Regions from separate parts of the Homo sapiens genome. Here all the other regions are linked to region 3. The links are contacts of gene promoters, found by promoter capture Hi-C in blood cells and fetal thymus (Javierre and others, 2016). All regions are on one chromosome and are shown on one strand. Each heading gives the region's core, a stretch centred on a gene start or on the middle of the fragment in contact. The rest is flanking DNA. Distances are from core to core; before and after follow the strand shown.

Evidence for each region. Contacts are between HindIII fragments. The CHiCAGO score rates a contact against its expected background, and 5 or more counts as called.
Region 1: a fragment that was not itself captured here is called in contact with the fragment with the promoter of ZNF420 in region 3 in 1 of 17 cell types (total CD4 T cells); the score reaches 8.3 in total CD4 T cells.
Region 2: a contact is called between a fragment that was not itself captured here and the fragment with the promoter of ZNF420 in region 3, in 1 of 17 cell types (naive B cells). The highest score is 6.9, in naive B cells.

The regions. Positions count from the first base shown.
Region 1 is chr19:43,922,801-43,927,653 of GRCh38, forward strand. It overlaps ZNF45 (zinc finger protein 45), which reads right to left. Exons shown (of 10, transcript NM_003425.4): 4 at 2,525-2,658; 5 at 1,602-1,761; 6 at 1,438-1,510. It overlaps ZNF45-AS1 (ZNF45 antisense RNA 1), which reads left to right. Exons shown (of 3, transcript NR_184050.1): 2 at 2,342-2,454; 3 at 3,486-4,853. Among named protein-coding and RNA genes, the nearest start is that of ZNF45, 10 kb to the right of the region's middle. The HindIII fragment of the contact is 2,032 bases long and covers 665-2,696 here.
Region 2 is chr19:43,868,073-43,872,909 of GRCh38, forward strand. ZNF404 (zinc finger protein 404) reads right to left here. Exons shown (of 3, transcript NM_001033719.3): 3 at 4,293-4,837. The coding sequence ends at 4,483. Among named protein-coding and RNA genes, the nearest start is that of ZNF404, 13 kb to the right of the region's middle. The HindIII fragment of the contact is 3,147 bases long and covers 1,814-4,837 here.
Region 3 is chr19:37,075,298-37,080,094 of GRCh38, forward strand. It overlaps ZNF420 (zinc finger protein 420), which reads left to right and starts at 3,136. Exons shown (of 5, transcript NM_144689.5): 1 at 3,136-3,273. LOC105372390 (a long non-coding RNA gene) reads right to left here and starts at 2,900. Exons shown (of 2, transcript XR_001754095.2): 1 at 2,801-2,900; 2 at 1-1,008. RefSeq lists a silencer at 2,592-2,881 and an enhancer at 2,972-3,211. The HindIII fragment of the contact is 14,557 bases long and covers 1-4,797 here.

The DNA.
Region 1 (4,853 bases), core at 431-2,930, 6.8 Mb after region 3:
TTCTACCAATAAATTCTTTGTTTTTTTTTTTTTTTTTTTTTTTGAGAGAGGGTCTTGCTCTGCTGCCCAGGCTGGAGTGCAGTGGCACAATCATGACTCACTAAAGCCTTGACCTCCTGGGCTCAAGCGATCCTCCCACCTCAGCCTCCCAAGTAGCTGGGACCACAGGTGTGCACCACAATGTCCAGCTAATTTTTTTACTTTTTGTAGAGACGAGGTCATGCTATGTTGCCCGAGCCAGTCTCAAACTCCTGAGCTCAAGTGATCCTCCTGCCTCAGCCTCCCAAAGTGCTGGGATTACAGGTGTGAGCCACCACACTCAGCTGATGAATTCTTTAGTAGAGGTTTTTTAACCTCTACTTTAACCTCGCCTTTAACCTCTGAAATACCTGTTATTCTCTCTTGGTTTCCCATACTTAATTTGAGGCTTTTGCAATAGTATTTAAGATTACAGTGGTCCTTCCTATCCATAGTTTTGCTTTCTGTGGTTTCAGTTACCTGAAGTCAACTATGGCCCAAAAATAGGTGAGTACAGTGCAGTAAGATATTCTGAGAGAGAGAGAGAGACCATGTTTATAGAACTTTTGTTACAGTATTTTATCATTATTCTATTTTATTATAAGTTATTGTTGTTAGTCTCTTACTGTGCCTAATTTATAAATTAAGCTTTATCATAAGTATGTAGGTAAAGGAAAAACATAGTATATTTAGGGTTCAGTAATATCTGAGGTTTAAGTCATTCACTGGGGGACTTGGAAGGTATCTGCTGTGGATAAGGGGGGACTACTGTACATAGATGACTGCTTTTTTTGATAGTAAAATATGTAACATAAAATTTACCATTTTAACCATTTTTTAAGTGGTTACATTCAGTAAGTACATTTACATTGTTGTGCAGCCATCACCACTATCCATCATCAGAATTTTTTATGTACCCATTAAGTAATAATTCCCCATTCCCCCTCCCAGCCCCTGATAACCACGTTATCTCTATGAATTTGACTATATGGACTGGTTTCTAAAAGGTATAAGACCTTGCAAAATTTGGCTGTGTAGAGTGGCTCATGCCTGTAATCCTAGCACTCTGGGAGGCCAAAGTGGGAGGACTGCTTGAGGCCAAGAGTTCAAGACCAACCTGGCCAACAGAGTGATCTCTAAAGAGAAAAAAAAAAAATCTAAAAAAAAAAAAAAAGACCTTGCAAAATTTACTTTAACAGTAGGGCCTTAAAAAGACTATCATAGAGACAGAGAAAATTTAATAAAAAATCATGACTCTGCAAGATTTATGCAACTATAAATTAGATAATGTCACTGAAATTAACAAGCTATAGGAAGCACAATAATAACAACAAAAATGGTGATATTTAACTAAATACATATTAGGGACCTTATGAAGAACTTGGCACATGATGTTTCATTAAGGTACTTCACACATACCTGTGAAGAAGCTACTGTTGTATCAGTTGTGTGACCTTGGTCCAAACACCTAAACTTCTGTGCCTATGCTCAGCTATAAGAAGGGAAATGAAAACAGGATGTTAATCATAGGATTACTGTGAGGAATCAATGAGTGAATTTATGCAATGCCCTTGGCATAGTACCTGGCATTTTAGGGAGTTCTCAACAGATGATAATGACGACAATTGTATCCATTTAACAGGCGAGGAAGCTGAGGCTTGGTGAGGTCAAGAGGCAGGAACAGTACCTGAATCCAGCTTTCATACCAGAGCCAGTATTCTAAATCTTGTCTCTCTGTTGCTTCTAAAGACAAAAATAAGCAGATGGGAGTCTAAGATCTCATGGAAGGAGAAATGAGGGCTCCAGAGTTAGGGGTAAAAGACAGACACAGAAATGGAGATTGGACTCTGAAGCCAAGGGAGCTGCTTGAGGGAGTAGAGAACAGAGTTGTGAACAGTCTAGACTCCAGAACCAGCCCACCAGTACTGGAATACAGGCATGTCCAACTTGCTAGTACTTTGTGCTCTAATGTCTAATCTATAAACTGGATGTAATAATAATACCTACTTCATAGGAAGGTCAGTGAAAGTGACTAAGTATACACAAAACATGTGGAACAGTTTCTGGCAGCTTAAACAATCAATAGAAGTTACACATAAACCCATGCAGATGCTTTACATGAAACAGTCAGGGAGCCCCTCCCTTGCTGCTGTGGACCAATGTCTGTGTCCCCTCAAAATTCTTATGTTGAAGCCCTAATGTGATGTTATTGGGAGGTGGGGCCTTTAGGAGGTAATTAGGTCATGAGGGTGAAGCCTCCATAATGGGATTGCTTTCCTTGTAAGAAAAGCAAGTAACCTAGCTCTTTCTCTCTTCCTCCCAGGAAGATACAAGACAACAGCTTCTGCGAACCAGTAAGAGTGGCCTCATTAGACATTGGATTTGCCAGTGACTTGATCATGGACTTCCCAGTCTCCAGGACTGTGAGTTATAAAGGTTTGTTGTTTAAGCCACCCAGCCTATGGTATTGTTTGTTATAGCAGCACAAATGGACTAAGGCACTCACGGAGTCTGCAGCTTCACATGGCTTGATGATGGGGAAACATGGGCTGGATTCCAGATTCCACTTGACCCTTCAGCAGAGAGCCTCTGCACAGTGAAAAATGGAGTTCTTGTAGCTCTCAGGGTATGATTCTGATTCTATGGAGGGTGGAAACGAGTAAAATACCCAGATTAAAAGCTTAGTATTAGTTAATTACTGCTTGATTTATTAGTAAATTATTCTTAGTTCTCTTACTTCAGATAGAAGAACCCTTACTATTGAAAAGGGAAACATAAAACCTTCCAATCTTAGAAGAAATACTTATTTATTTATTTTTCTGAAATGGAGTCTTGCGCTGTGGCCCAGGCTGGAGTGCAGTGGAATGATCTCAGCTTACTGCAACCTCAGCCTTCCGGGTTCAAAAGATTATCCTGCCTCAGCCTCCCCAGTAGCTGGATTATGGGCACCCGCCACCATTCCTGGCTAATTTTTTTTGTTTCTTTTGTTTTTTTAGTACAGATGAGGTTTCACTATTTTGGCCAGGCTGGTCTCGACCTCCTGACCTCAAGTGATCCACCCGCCTTGGCCTCCCAAAGTGCTGGGATTATAGGCGTAAGCCACCACACCCAGCCTGAAATACTCTTTTAGAATTTGTAATTCACTTTGTTCTAACTCTATATTTGCCCAGCAACCTCTGCTCAGTAAGAATGTTTTGCAGGGGATATATTTCCATCGCCTCGGGAAAAAAAAGAGATAATAGCAAATCAACCATCTGTCTTGTGATGAATGTTTATTCAGCTTTATATCCCAAGTACCTAAAACAGTTCCTGTACAAAGTAATTGCCCAGCAGAAATGACTGAACCCACCATCAGACATGGAGAGGCATATAGGAAGACTAGACTAGTTGGTCTAAGTCTCCCTGAGACTGACTCCAGTTGGGAAGATTTGGAGAGCAAGGGTTTTATTTCCAAATTTTTCCTCTAGGTCTTTCACCATATTTGCTGTCCTTGGGCAAGATCAGAGTCATCTTTGGAAGGAAAAGCATCTCTGGATTTTGTTAAATACCATCTTAGGAAAGTACTCTCTGCTCTTCAAAGTCAGCGACGACATGAGTCACTGTTACAGAACCCACAGAATGTGTCCCTTAAAATACTGAGAATGAACACTATTTTACTGCCTGCATAATTAGCACTAGACAGGTGAATTTATTACTACTTCATTAAATAGATGAGTTTATTAACTCAGTGAAGACTTGTGGGAACCTTACTAAAAGAGATGCAATTCCCCAGCCTCAAGATGCTCACAGTCTAGTGATGAGGAAGCTGGCAATTCCACTATACATGGCTAAATGCCAGAGTAGTGCACAGCATCCTTTAGCGGCATGAGGAATGGGCTCATAAGCCCACAGTGGAATGCAGGGGTTCTACACAAACGTAGCTTAATCTGAGCCCTGGAGGGTGACTGAGCTCTATTAGCCAGAGAATCCAAATCACTATAAAACTCCCAGAGAACAAATGTCATGATGTGAAGACAAATAACAGGCAGAAAGAGATGGGCAGGAAGGCAGAATTCAAACCATGATGACGTTCAAGTCACAAAATTATCTGCAAGTCAGCAGGAGAACACTGAAGGACTTCTGGAAAGGAGAGTAAAAAGATTCCTTTCATGTTAGAAACAGATTACCCTCTCAAACGGGAGGAGGCTTGAGGGGGAGGAGGCTAGGGCCAGAGAGACTATTAGGAGAGCCACACTAAGAAACTCTTTCTTCTTTATTCAAATGTCACCACCTCAGAGTCTCTCTCTAGCCATCCTGTAGATAATTTCGGTCTCCTAACTGCACCCCAACACTTCCTATCCCTCATCTCTGCTTACTTCTTTTCTCTAAGCCCTTATTCCTCTCTAACATCCTTCTAGGTATTTACTTACTTATATTCATTACACTTGTCTAATGTGGAGTTTCGTTACCTGCTCCATCCCCAACACCTACTAAGTTGCTACAAGCATTTGGAAGGAACCCAAAGATTTGCAGAATGACTACTTTAATGACTCAGTGAATAGTTGATAGATACACCATGTGGATCAGGGCCTCATTATTTATCACCTGAACCATTCATTCAACATATGATTGTTGAAGGGTCTACTCTGTGCCAGCCAAGGGTCCTAGATGTGAAATATACAGCAGTGAACAAAGACCTTGATCTCACAAAGATGATATTATAATGGGCTACGAGGGCATAGCAAACCCCCAATATATAGCGAGAGACACTTTTAAGAACAATAGGGCAGGGTAAAGAAATAAAGAGATGAAAGGAGGGGCTGTCACAGAATAAGTTTTTGTCATGAAAGATTTCT
Region 2 (4,837 bases), core at 2,137-4,636, 6.8 Mb after region 3:
TCCTGAGGAGCTGGGATTACAGGCATGCATCACTGCACCAGGCTAATTTTTGTATTTCTAGTAACGTCGGGGTTTTGCCATGTTGGCCGGGCCAAGAACTCCTGGCCTCAAGTGATCCGCCTGCCTCAGCCTTCCAAATGCTGAGATTACAGGTGTGAGCCATTGTGCCCTGCCTTGATGTATTTATTTGAATACTTCAAAAAGAAGAAGAGTTACAGTGATACTAAGGAAATAATTATTAGTAATTAAATGGAAATACTTAGTACTTTATAATTAAATTATTATTCTAGGTTGAAAAGTAAGTATGGACAAAATTTAAAATTTAAAATAAATGAAGGCATATTACACAGAATTGAGTGGAGACCAGTACTATGGTCAGAATTGTAAAAAATGAGCCTGGAAGATAATATACTATGAATTTCATGATGAATGTCAATTGCAATTTGCTGTGAGAGAGCAAAAAAAAAAAGCTGTTTATTACATAACAAATTAAATTGTTAAAGAGAAAAATATTGTGAAACATTTTCAGCAAATACATAGTAAATTTGATGAGACGTTTTCTCTTGAGAAGCAAAATGGAATAGATGAAGTTAGTTGCCTGAAATTAGAATTAAATGTCCAACCAAAATATTTAAACAATTTTTAAACAGAATCTGAGTTTATAACCTTTTTGAGCTATAAAATGGCTCTGATTCTTGCACAAAAAAGAAATGTTGGATATAGAGATAAGATAAATTATTAGTTTGGTTGCAAAAATCTTGTTAGCATATTCTGAGAAAGACTAAAATGATCTTATAAAAAGTAAAAAAAAATTAAGTCACCTAAAAACTGCTCATAGAATACAAGATATTTCTAACAATATCATGGATCAATTAATTCAAAGTTAGCAAAAGCTTCAAGTACTCTTCTTTAGCCATATATGAGTTGTGCAATATAAGATAATTTAGCCCAATTGATACTGTGGGTACATTTTGTCTCAAAAGATCCCCAAATAAAAAAAGCTGTCAATTCGCAGCCTACAAAACCAGAGTCATGACATAGATATTTTTGTCTTTTATATCTGTCAAAGAAAAATTTCTGTTAGGTATCAAAAAATATTTCTATCACAATAGATGATACACCAGCTGTATTAGGTTAAAAATCTGAATTCCTTGGAATTTTAATGCAAGAGACTGATGTCTCCCTAACTGCTTTGCTCTACTGTATAAAGAATATACCTATGAAGTATATACATGTAAATATTATGAATCACGACTACTTCATGGAACTGTTAAAAGAAATAGAGGTCAGGCTTGGTGGCTGACGCCTGTAATCCCAGCATTTTGGGAGGCTGAGGGGGGCGATCATGAGGTCAGCAGATCAAGCCCATCCTGGCTAACACGGTGAAACCCCGTCTCTACTAAAACTACAAAAAATTAGCCAGGTGTGGTGGTGGGCACCTGTAGTCCCAGCTACTCGGGAGGCTGAGGAGAATGGCATGAACCTGGGAGGCGGAGCTTGCAGTGAGCCGAGATCGCGCCACTGCACTCCAGCCTAGGTGATAGAGTGAGACTCCGTCTCAAAAAAACATAACAAAACAAAACAAAAAAGAAATAGAGAACAATTAATCTTATGTTCTTTCCCAATGCTCATCTGTTTAATGGTGTAAGACATTTACAAAGATTTCTCGTACTTTGAACTCCAGTTCAAGATTTTCTTTAAAGAAAGTTTTCCAAATATTTAATAATAAAGGAAAAAGAAGACAGTGATTTTTTTTCTCACCAGTATCACATTGCATATGAATAAGCAAAATCTGAAACTCCAAGGAAAGGAAAGCTTTTTTTTCGTGACCTAGTGAAAATAATAGGAACATTCATTGAAATGAAAACTTTTCACTGTATAAGTTCATAATAATGATTTTATATATTTTTCTAGCATGAATCAATATATAGAGGATTTTAACAGGACTGAAAAGCCTTGTGAAAAGATGCATGCAATGAAGAAATAGGCAATCTTAGTAAAGAAATAGGAACTATAAAAGTACTAAAGGAAAATTCTAGAACTGAAAAATGTAATATCTGAAATTAAACAATTTGATAGATAGGCTTAGCAGCAGAACTGAAATGACAGAGAAAAAGAATAAGTGAATTTGAAAACAGAGTAACAGAAGTTGTCCAAGCTGAAGAACAGAAAAAAAATACTGAAGATAAATAACAAAGACAGTGACCTGTGGGACAGTACCAAAAGATTTAACGTATGAGTAGAGTAAATGCAGAAAAAATATTTGAAGATATAATGGCCAAGAATTTCTGGAATTTGGTGAAAGGCACATGTGTGCAAATTTCAGAGGCTCAGAGTACCCCAAGCAGAATTAACACAAAGAAAACCATACCTAGGCACCTCATACTCAAACAGCTGAAAACCAAAAGTAATAAGAAAATCTGGAAAGCACCCAGAGAAAAAGGACACATTACATAAGAGAAAAAACAATTCAAATGACTTCTTCTTGTAAACTATGGAGACTTGAAGACCAGAAGTCGGTGATTTATATATACATATATGAAACAATATATATCTCTTTATGAGTATATATATGTGTGTGTATTCTTTGTGTGTGTGCATATACACACACATATATTCATATATCTCCAAAAAACTGCCAACCCAGAATTCTATAGCCAGAAGAAATCCTTAAAAAATAAAGGCATTTCAGTAAAAGAAACTATGAAAATTCATCACCAGCAGACGTTCACTCCAAGAAATGCTAAGTTAAGTTCCTCAAACTGTAGGGAAATGATACCAGAGAAAAATTCAGATCTCTGGAAAGAAATAAACAGCATGGGAAATAGTAAATATATGGGTAAATATAAAAGATGAGGATTTTCATCTTAATTTCTTTAAGCAACTGGGTGTAGCACTGTGTGCCTATAGTCCCAGCTACTCCAGAGGTTGAGGCAGGAGGATTGCCTGAGCTCAGGAGTTCAAGGCTGTAGTGTGCTATATAACATCTGTGAATAGCCACTGAATTCCAGCCTGGGCAACATAGCAATACCCCATCTCTAAAAATAGAATACAGAAGACTGTTCAAATTTCCAACATGACTTTCCATGGATTACTTATTTAATTGCAAAGAAAAAATTCACCCATAACAATGGAAGGAGCTGGTGGTCAATACATGAATCAAGGGATAAAACATAGTTTCACTTGTAGGCCACCTGATACTTTACAATATTAAGTACATGATACTATCTATGAAGTAGTCTTTTGAAAATGTTTAATCTGAAACCCAATCAAGCCTCTAATCATAACCTCCAGGTCACAGTAAATATAGAGGACAAAGAAACAAGTTAATCACACCTCCAGAAACAATAAGACAAACACAGCATGTGCAACACTATTTAGGTCAAATCTAAAGTCTTCAAAAAGTCTATGTCACAAAATGATGAAGGGTAGGCTCTTGACTAAAAGAGACTTAATAAGCCATAATCATATAAAATATATGAGATTAGTTTGGTTCTTGGCTTGTGAAAAAGACAGTGCTAAAAGACATTATTTTAAAAATTGGAGAAATTTGCAAATGGAGTGAATATTTTAAGACATTATAGGGTTACTGTTAATTTTTTTGTGACAATGGTGTAGTAGACATCTAGAAGATTATCTTTGATCCTAGCAGTTGTATGTTGCCTTTTTTTTAGAGGTGAATGATACCTAAAACATTCACTCAAAAAACAGGAAAAGTGATATATGTAATATATACATATATTCATGTGTAATAAGTATGATATATATATATATGCATCTGTGTATATACATAGACATAAGACATGCATGGTATATATGTATTTGTGTGTATATATGTGTTAGTATACACATAAAAAAGAGAGACATCAGATGTACTGAAACTAGGTGAAGGGCAAACAAGCCTTCACTGCACCACTGTAAACAGCTACCTTTTCTGTAAGGATGTAAATCTTAACATTTTCATAAACTTAGGGAAAACTTTTCCAAGTTAATATCTGTCTTTTGGCTACCTAACTGTTCATTTCTAATTTATTTTAATTGTAGAGGATGCAAAATATGTGTTATCTGTATTATAGGATTTGTGAAAAAATTTCTTTAAACCACTCTCTAATTTTCAACAGCTATCCTTTCATTATTCAATAAATACACATTATTTATTCCAGCATTAATCTTCAGGGGTATGAATTCTGAATTTAAAAATTTCTCATTTAATATATTCTACAGGATTTTGTCCAGAATAAATTATATGAAGTGATGATAGAGCATTTTCAAAATATCACACTCATAGGGTCTTCCTTCTATAAGATTTATTTTTAGTAATTCTAACAATTATCATAAAAATAATGTATTTAGTAAGCAAATACGATGTGCCAGATGCCTTTCCAAGTATTTATATTCTATATTAACTAGTTTAATCTTCACTATAGCATCATAATAGTGACAACAGTAAAAATGTGCCATGGCTAAAGGCTTTCCCTCTCATTACATTAAGAGTCTCTCACCATGGTGAAATCTTTGATGTTGACTAAGTTGATAGCAATGACTAAAGGCCTTACCACATTCTTTGCATTTCTGTGGTTTCACACCAGTATGAATTGTCTCATGTTGAGTAAGTCGATCACTGCGATTAAAGGCCTTATCACATTCTTTACATTCATAGGGTTTTTCACCAGTATGAATTCTCTTATGTTGAGAAAGACCTGAGATAGAACGAAAGGCCTTCTTACATTCTTTACATACATAGGGTTTCAAACCAGTATGAATTGTCTGATGATAAATTAGTTGAGAATTAAGTCTAAAGGTTTTTCCACATTCCTTACATTCATAGGGTTTCTCC
Region 3 (4,797 bases), core at 1,886-4,385:
CAGTCTTCCTAAGGTGTAAGTTTTTCTGGATTTTGTCTGCTTCCACAGTTTAGGTTCCTTGGCTCACTTCCTTGCTCCAAAACCAACGTCTCTATTGACTTTTATATTTTAAAATTAAATTTTAAATATATGAGTGATGCTACCTTGCTAAAAGAGAGAGAGAGGCCGGGCGCGGTAGCTCACGTCTGTCATCCCAGCACTTTGGGAGGCCAAGGTGGGCAAATCACGAGGTCAGGAGTTCGAGACCAGCCTGGCTAAAATGGTGAAACCCTGTCTCCACTAAAAATACAAAAAATTAGCTGGGCGTAGTGGCAGGCGCCTGTAATCCCAGCTACTCGGGAGGCTGAGGCAGGAGAATCACTTGAACCCGGGAAGCGGAGGTTGCAGTGAGCTGAGAGCGCACCACTGCACTCCAGCCCGGGCGACAGAGTGAGACTCTGTCTCAAAACAAAAACAAAAACAAAAACAAACAAACAAACAAAAACAGAGAGAGAGGGAGAGAAATGACCTATAATGCTTAAGTTCCCTTTGACATTTACTTCTCCCCCTTTACCCTAAATCCTCTCTTCTCTCCCTAAAGGTTACCATTAGCAGGAGTTTTGTGTGTATCCCTCTATAAAATATATACTATTTTTATACTAATTATATCACATAGTATTCTAACAAATCCTTCTCAGTTCCTGCAGTCTACGTTTCTGATGGTCTTAACCTTTTTTAGCTTAAAGTACCTCTTTGTGAATCTGAAAAGCTGCCTATACTTTTTTTAAAAAAATCACATATCAACACATATAAAATGTCATAAGTTTAATATACAAGAAGCCCATCCACATGGAATCTATTCATCTCAGGTGAACAACTGTTTTTTACTTTTAAGTGATAGCTTCCTTTTTCTTGCAAGCACTCATCGTAACTATTCAAAAGCCAAAAGTAGTGACCCAGAATCACACAGATGCGGCTCAAGATCAATGCATGCTGTTCAATTTGAAACCAGAATGTGTCTGTCACCTCCTAAAAAAAAAAACAAAACCCAGTATATATCTCCCATATATAATTGGACATAATTCTTTTTTATTTTTATTTTTATTTATTTATTATACTTTAAGTTCTAGGGTACATGTGCACAACGTGCAGGTTTGTTACATATGTATACATGTGCCATGTTGGTGTGCTGCACCTGTTAACTCATCATTTACATTAGATATATCTCCTAATGCTACCCCTCCCCCTACCCCCACTCCCTGACAGGCCCCAGTGTGTGATGTTCCTTACCCTGTGTCCAAGTGTTCTCATTGTTCAATTCCCACCTATGAGTGAGAACATGTGGTGTTTGGTTTTCTGTCCTTGCGATAGTTTGCTAAGAATGATGGTTTCCAGCTTTATCCATGTCCCTATAAAGGACATGAACTCATCCTTTTTTATGGCTGCATAGTATTCCATGATGTATATGTGCCACATTTTCTTAATCCAGTCTATCATTGATGGACATTTGGGTTGGTTCCAAGTCTTTGCTATCGTGAATAGTGCCGCAATAAACATACGTGTGCATGTGAATTGGACATAATTCTTGCCTGACTTTGACCCACTCTAACTCAGTGCAATTTAATTATCTATATTTCACATAGCTATGCCTGATCACACACACAGGTTCATTCCCTCAAGAATTCTGATCACCAAATTTGCTATTCCAGTCACATTACCGGTAAGAGATCAATGTATTTGATATATGGTCTTGCAAGACCAAGTTTTATTAATTTTTTTCCCTCTGAAGGAGTGGTGAAATTATACTCTATCTTCTCTGTGCTGGAAGTTCACAAGTTTTTGATTATTCAAAAATCATAAAAGGCCAAGAGGTCTTGAAGTAAGTAAAAATAAGTTCAGGTTTACCAACAAACTCTACAGCCTTAAGTTACTTTCTGCCGGCCAAGGTTTTCTCATCAGAAAATGAGGACAAGTGTTTGACCTAGAATTTGGGAAATCTGACTAGTGCTGTACTGTGCTAAAATTCACTCTTCTTATGTATAACGTTGTTTTATTATTTTATTAGTTGATGGCCTCTCAACCGTACCCAGTAATAAGAGAAACTTTACCCTCTAATTAGAAAATAATGGATATCTACTTTTGGCCTGCTGTGGCAGAGGAAAAGGCAGTTACCCTAGGACTGGTTTTGAAATAATCTTTCTAAAAACAAAGAAAAAACTACGTTAATTTTGGATTCTTCCCGATAACACATATATTTGATCCAATAGAAAAATGATGTCTAAATTACTTGTCAGATAAATTGATTATCTTTTCCAGATTATTACATTACTATTTAAGGAAGAAATAACTTGGCCATAGTATTTTCACTGTCACACACGATCACACACAGCTCATTTGCTCTTGGCACCCTTACAGACACTGAAATACAAGCACAAAGAAAGCACGTTTATATAACACAGATCACCAGTTACTCAATTACGGCCACACACAAAAAAGCAGATATACATACAGATACCCTTCATAAGCAAACCACAATAGAGATCTGTGTAAAATCGTCTTACTCTGTTAGACGATTCTACACAGTTATAAAATCCCATTACTACGCAGCTTAAAGTACAAATCACCTCACACCCCACAGCAGGAAGAATCACACACAGGCAGAAACACAACCATACACACCCGGCCACGGAAAGACTCTCAGTCCACCTGGCATCTCCCATTGTCACACACACCCCAAGGGCCTGGGAGGGCACACACAGGGTCCTCTGCAAATCCGAGGTTCCGGCGGGTCCCCGCACCGGCCCCAGCTCCTCCCCCGCACCTGCCTGGCCGGCGGGTCCCACCCTCTCTCCTGCCAGGGGTAGACCCTGGGACCACTCAGCTCGCTCTCGCAGGCCCTGAGCGTCTGACGCCTGCGCACTGAGCGCGGGCGGGCGGGCACTCCCAGAAACCTCCGGGGCGCTGCAGGCGGGACAAGCAGGTTCCACAGGCCGAGCCCACGAGCCCCTCGAGGGGTGAGCGGCCCGGGCCTCCTGGCGTTCTGGCCGGCTAGCCAAGCGCTGGACTACATTTCCCAGAGGCACGGCGTCCGGAGCGCTGGACTACATTTCCCAGAGGCACCGCTCCCGGAGCGTAGCTTCATTTCCGTTAGTTTGCGAGATTTGGAGGCCTCGCGTGGGGAGAGGGCCGCGTCTGTGGAGGAGCTTGGCTCCGCACCTGCTGGGCTGGCGAACCCGAAATTGGGCTTGGAACCCGGGAGCCAGATCTTGGACCCTGAACTGCACCTCTGTCAAGGTAGGAGTGTCCGGGATGCCGGAGCGGACACGCGCGGAGAAAGCGTCGCTGGGGTTACTCGTGTGGCCGTGTCTCCGGTTTTGTGTGCAGGCTACAGCCTGCCTGGTATTGGCGACTGCCTGTGCATACACGACTGGACGTGTGTGGCTGTGGTTTTGTGTATGAGCATTTGTATGAGTGTGAGTTGTGACTCTGAGGGTGTTTGTGACTGTTTGCTTACCTGGCTGGGATATACTTATGTGACTGTGATTTTATGTGTGCCGCGTGTATAATTGGGGTTTGCCTGTGACTATGAAGTGTGTGACAGTTGTGACAAGAGTGTTTGGATGTTCTTGTGTCACTTTGAGGTTGTGTGTAAACCTGATATCGTGGGATGGATTTGCCAGTAAATTTAAGGTGTGTGACAGTGTTGCTGTGACACGGTGTTTATTACCGCGTGTTTCCCTGATTTCGTACTGGGTTGGGTGACTGTCTGATTGTGTGTGACTGTGGGGTTGTGTGTGCTGTTTTCATGACTGTGTAAAGAGACTAAAATTGCAGCTTTGAAAGGGTGTTTTTGGCGGTATGTGTCTCTGACAAGGTGCTTGGATGTAATTATATGCCTTGTACTTAATGGGATTTTGTTTGAGACAAGGTGGTCTAACAATGTAGCATAATTGGGTGATTGTGCCTCTAGCTGTGTAACTGTGGAAATGTGATTATGTGTGACTTTATGTGGCCATTTGTATATTCTGTGACCTTATGGGGGTTTAGTCCAGTACAGAAGTAAATTTCTTTTTGGTATTTCTGGGGTTCATTTGGGGCTGAGGTCTGCCTATGGATTGTGAGTCCCATGTGGCTCTGTGCTCCTCCCATGTGGCTCTGAGGACTTAAGGACTTTTTGATTTGACCACAGTGGCTGCCCTTTCATCCATGGCCTGTATTGCTTCATTTCTGTATCCATCCTCGGTTCACCTTGGGAAATGTAGTTACTTACGAGTTCACGACTTCTTCCCTGCGTCCTCTTGCCTTATAGCCTTAAGGGGATTGGGTGCAGGGAAGTGGCAAGAAGTAAGGAAGTCAGACATTTGGACACCTGAGTGATGAATAGGAGTTATTTGCAAGTTACAGACCTGGTCTTAGGATGAGAATTTTAGGGCTGATAATACCTTCAAGACAGCCACTGGATGCTGTGCGCGGTGGCTCACATCTGTAATCCCAGCGCTTTGGGAGGCAGAGGCGGGTGGATTACCTGAGGTCATGGTTTCACCATGACCTCTACTAAAAATACAAAATTAGCTGGGCGTGGTGGCGCATGCCTGTAATCCCAGCTACTTAGGAGGCTGAGGCAGGAGAATTGCTTGAACCCGGGAGGCGGAGGTTGCAGTGAGCCAAGATCAAGCCACTGCACTCCAGCCTGGGCAACAAGAGTGAAACTCATTCTCTAAATAAATAAATAAATAGGCCACTGGAAATATAATGGGACTCCAGGAGTGGGAATAGTTTCAGAGGGAGTGCTTTAGGAGACAGCCACCCAGTTCTGAA